Linked DNA regions of Homo sapiens: region 2 is linked to region 1. The links are contacts of gene promoters, found by promoter capture Hi-C in human tissues and cell types (Jung and others, 2019). All regions are on one chromosome and are shown on one strand. The core of a region is centred on a gene start or on the middle of the fragment in contact, and the rest is flanking DNA. Distances in the headings are between cores, read along the strand shown. Region 1 holds the start of LUZP2 (leucine zipper protein 2). Region 2 has its middle 320 kb from the start of ANO3-AS1.

The links. The method cuts DNA at HindIII sites, captures the fragments that hold promoters and counts their contacts. A contact is called where the count stands out against the background at its distance.
Region 2: a fragment that was not itself captured here is called in contact with the fragment with the promoter of LUZP2 in region 1 in 1 of the 25 tissues and cell types used here (mesenchymal stem cells).

The regions. Positions count from the first base shown.
Region 1 is chr11:24,495,791-24,498,317 of GRCh38, reverse strand. LUZP2 (leucine zipper protein 2) reads right to left here and starts at 1,265. Exons shown (of 12, transcript NM_001009909.4): 1 at 1,013-1,265. The coding sequence starts at 1,074. The HindIII fragment of the contact is 10,753 bases long and covers 1-2,527 here.
Region 2 is chr11:25,971,117-25,973,643 of GRCh38, reverse strand. No RefSeq gene overlaps it. Among named protein-coding and RNA genes, the nearest start is that of ANO3-AS1, 320 kb to the left of the region's middle. The HindIII fragment of the contact is 3,641 bases long and covers 1-2,527 here.

The DNA.
Region 1 (2,527 bases), core at 16-2,515:
TCCCTACTTTATTTGCCATCAGATGCACAATCAAATAATGTTTCTATTCACGTAGACTTGAAAGGATCTTCATCCTGTGTGGGTTATTTTATTTTATAGTAGCCAAGGGAAAGAGGTTGCTGCCAATATGATGCTAAGGGCATGCAGAATAAAGACAGTCCTGGGCAACTAAACAGTCCACCTTTGTGCTGCGCTTGTGGAAGAAAAAAGCAAACCCATCACAACTTTGGGACTTGATCAACAGTGGGGAGTCACAAAACTCTTCTCAATCTCTGCATTTTAAATCTCCACCAAAAATAGCTCCTCTGTAATGGGGCTTAAAGTCCCATCCATGGCCAGTGATGGAGTACAGTACTTAATTGTTTCTGACTAGGGTCTCTGCATCAGCACTCTGAGAGTGTCTTCTAACTTTTAATCGCCTTCTGTGCTCTTTAATTAGACCTGTTCACAAGACAGTCAAAAGAAAACGCCTATCACTAAGCTTATCCAAGACGTTGAAACATGCCATTTCAGGAGTCCAGGAACTTTTGTACAAGTCTTAGCATCTTCCAGGATTAATCTGTTTTCTCTGGTTTCCTCTTCCTTAAATCAGGCACACTTGGGGGAAGGGAGAAGCTCTATGGTTATTAAGACAACTCCAATGTAAAGACACTGCCTGGTGGCAATTCCCTCCTTGCCTATTTCCGTTCTTTATTTTGTTCTTTTACCGCGTGTTACCTTTTGGCTACTAATAGGACCGGAGGGTAAAATGTCTTTTCTCTCCTTCGGAAGAGAAAGCTTTTGATCCCTCACTGAGAGCAATCCTAAGACTTTCTCCAGGGGGCTGGGATAACTAGGAAAGGGCTCTGCTCTCTCAGAAGGATTTCAGAGCCCAAACCATACAGCGTCCCTCTTGCTTAGGCGGGAGATGCAAACAGCTGAAGTGCCTTGGCCCCCACTGGTGACCCACAGTAGGACCAACCTCGCCCCGGCAGCGCCCCTGGCCTCAGGTCACTCACGCTCCTGGACTCACCTGGTGCTGAGGACCAGCGCAGGCAGGAGAGGCAGCAGGTAGTGCGCTGGGCTGAATTTCATGCTGCTGCCTGCCGGGGTCCTCCTTCCCTCGCTGCCTTCTCTCTCTCTCTTCGGGATCCTGTCGCTCCTTGGTGCCCGGCTCTGTCCCCAGCCAGTGATGAGCGCTCTTCCGAGGCGGAAAGGCGGAGACGGGCACACGAACGGACGCCTGGGGAAGGCAGGCGCTGGGAGCGAGGAGTATCTTCAGGAGTGATGTCACCGGCGAGGCGAGCCCTGCCGGGGATTGTTCGGCGCCGCCGCTCCGGAGCCCGGAGGGCGCGCCGTCACTCGCGCTGGAGGCGGCGCGGGGAGAGGGAGGGGGCGCCTCGCGATCGCCCCGTGCGCTTCGGTCACCGGGCTGCGCTCTGGTCAGTCGGGTGAGCACTGGCCAGGGGCGGATCATTTATTCCCGCTGCTCCCCAGGATGGCGCGGGGCGGGGCACGGAGAGTAGAAACCTAATCTGCCGATAATTGAACTTGCGTACTCGGCAGGAGATGAGACCCAATTCACTGGGAGAGACTTCCAGACGCGTAGGGTCCTAGGCAGGTGTCTCTCGCCGCTTAAACCGTGTTTGGAAGAACGTCGCTCTGGAGAGAGTGTTTAGAAGATTGTTCTAATTAGAACTGCATAATGATTTGCCTGAAACAGATGGAAGGAAGCGGGAGTAAGCAGCGTCCAGAAATGCAACCTCAGCCCGTCATGGCATTGCAATCTTCTTAACCCGTGAATGTTGACTGCAAAGAACCAAAGAACGTTTCGGGACCGTTAAGACATCTGCTGCTCTGGGTTTTGAAGATTTCTGATCTTCCTCTGATTTCAGTCGTCTGTACCAGCACCTGCCAATGGGGTTGGACCTGGTGGCTCAAGTTCACACACCTGAAGGAGTCCTTTTCCTCAGGTGAAACTCATCAAGGAGACCTAGCGGACAAAAACCATTAAAATGTTAACAGTAATCAGCTCGGAATGATGGTACTGGAAGGTAGAGGTTTTGTAGGTCATTTGGTTTTCTATATTTTCAAATGTTCTATCATAAGCATCCAATATTTAATAGGCTCTATTTAGAAATTTTAATTAGAAAAATTAAATAGCACAATTATAATCCAAAACACCATTTTGCAAAAGCAATTCTGAGAAACAGAACTACTATCTCTGCTACTGAGATATTCAATTCTAGGATATTTATAAGATGATATTGCATGTGTGTGTGTGTGTGTGTGTGTGTGTGTGTGTGTGTGAGTGAGAGTGAGAGAGAGAGAGAGAGAGAGAATGAGAATTCCATCTGGATATTATCCTGGTTATATAACTGTGTATAAGGCACTTCTTCATACAGTATTTAATTTAATCTTCACAAGAGCCATCCTAGTGAAATAGACGTTAATATCACTATTATAGATATGAGCAGACTGAATATCATCAAAATCTGACTATGCATATTAAAAAAAAGAACTGGTTCTACTAAGTCCTAAGAAAAAT
Region 2 (2,527 bases), core at 14-2,513, 1.5 Mb before region 1:
ACTGCCTAGACAGAGCTGATTTATCAAGACAGGGGAATTGCAATAGAGAAAGAGTAATTCACACAAAGCTAGCTATGTGGGAGACTGGAGTTTTAGTATTACTCAAATCAGTCTCCGTGAAAAATCAGGAGTCAGAGATTTTAAGGATAATTTGGTAGGTAAGGGGCCATTGAGTTGGGAGTGCTGATTCGCTGGGTCAGAGGTGAAATCATAGGAAGTTGAAACTGTCCTCTTGTGCTGAGTCAGTTCCTGGGTCGGAACCCCAAGAACAGATGAGCCAGGTTATTGATCTGAGTGATGCCAGCTCATCTACTGAGTGCAGGGTCTGCAAAATATCTCAAACACTAATCTTAGGTTTTACCATAGTAATGTTATCCCCCAGAAGCAATTTGGGGAGATTTAAAATCTTGCACCCTCCAGCTGCATGACTCCTAAACCATAAATTCTAATCTTGTGGCTAATTTGTTAGTCCTGCAAAGGCAGTCTAGGCCCCAGGCAGGAAGGAGATTTGTTTTGGAAAAGGGCGGTTATCATTTTTGTTTCAAAGCTAAATTATAAACTAATTTCCTCTTAAAGTTAGTTAGGCCTAAGCCCAGGAATAAACAAGCACAGCTTGAGGGTTTAATGCAAGATGGAGCTGGTTAAGCCAGATCTTTCTAAGTCGGTTATAATTTTGCAATGGCAGTTTCAACACAATAGAAGCTTGAGAGCATCATCCTGTAAACCAAAATAATAATAATAATAATAATAATAATAATAATAATAATTCTAAGTCCTTCAACCAACTGAATAGATCCCTCTTCTTGGCCAAGGGCATTCTAAAGTAAACCTGAAATACGAGTTTAGGCAATGATGGAAATGGGTGGTCAGACATGCCTCATTAAACCTTCCTCCCATTGGAATTCAGGCACAGCTGACCAAAATTAACATTCAAACAGAGACCTTAGGACCGACAGAACAGACTCTTTAAGTCTGATAAGAAATGTTTATTATCTATTCTCTCTGAAGCTTACTACCTGGAGACTTCATCTGTATAATGAGAACTGTGGTCTCCACATCCCTGTATCTTTAGATAAACTCTTTCAACCAATTGCCAATCAGAAAATATCATTGAATCTACCTATGACCCGAAGAGCCTCCCCTGCTTCCCCCACCCCCATCCTGCCTTTCTGGACCAAACATTTTACATATGTTGATTGATGTCATAAATCCAGGCTGTAGCCTGACCACCTTGGGCACATGTTGTCAGGACTTTCTGAGGTTGTGCCATGGGCATGTCTGTAACTTTGGCAAAATAAGCTTCTAAATTGATTGGCACTTGTCTCAGATTCTTTTTGGTTTACAAGCCCAACCAAACAATTAAGTTCATCTGCTCATTTGCTGGTAGTAATAGTATATCAGTGGAACCTATCTCTCTATTTTACACCAATATTAGGGTTGTTGACACTTCTGAGATTTAACAATGATGCTATAATACATTAAATACATTATAGTTGATGAGTTCATTTGGAACCACAAACTCTTTGAGGGAAAAATGTCTTCATTATTTTAGTGCCTTCAGTGTTTATCAGGAAACAGAGTACAAAATGATAAATATATGATGAGCAAAAAAATAAAAACTAATTAAAAAGCTAAGTGAATGAAGGAGGAAATGGTTCTACCATGGTCCACTTCTGTGTACACATAAATGACTTTATATTTTTCAATGAGTTTACCCTATCCTTAAAGGTATTCTATGAAGGGATCATATTTATTGTCATGACAGCTATGACTTTTCTTACGAAATTCATATTCTCTCATTTTACCAATGGCCACATGTATGCTGTGAATTTTAGCCCCCATCATAGTAAGTACTTAGATATTCCCTTTACAGTTAGACTTATTTTATATATGAGAAAAGTGAACTTGGAAGTACTGGCCATTTATTCTGCATTAGGACATGTGAACATATCTGCATGTTTTATATACATTTAATATAATATGTTTTATATACATATTTAATACAAAATATACAAACAAAAAACAAAACCTAAAAACAAAATGTTCTCTCATGAATAATGATACATTATTGTACTCAAGTTATCTATAACTACCCAACTAATTTTTGATCCTATACTCTTGGTCCAGACATTGACAAGGAATTTGTCTCTCTCTGTCTCTCACTTTGTTCAAGTATCTCATGGCTAAGTTTACCACTGGGTATAACTTTTATACACTGAGCCATTTTCTTTCTGAATCAAACATGATAAATGTAGAATGTATATCATGATCCTCCTCCCCTCCACCTGGGGGCTTTGATACCAAAAGATCTACCTAACTGGGAGTTTCACTGTATGCCTATTTAGCCACAAGGGGCAGGATTCCTTACCTGCTTTCTCCCCATAATTTTGATCATCTGTAGTGCCAGATATGTCCTTATTTTTATAGATTAGTATTTAAGTTTATTATTAGGGGTTGGGTTCATTATTCAACATCCATTTGCTTCCCTGAGCACTTGAGAAAACTTATCTAACACATTTTTAGTCCT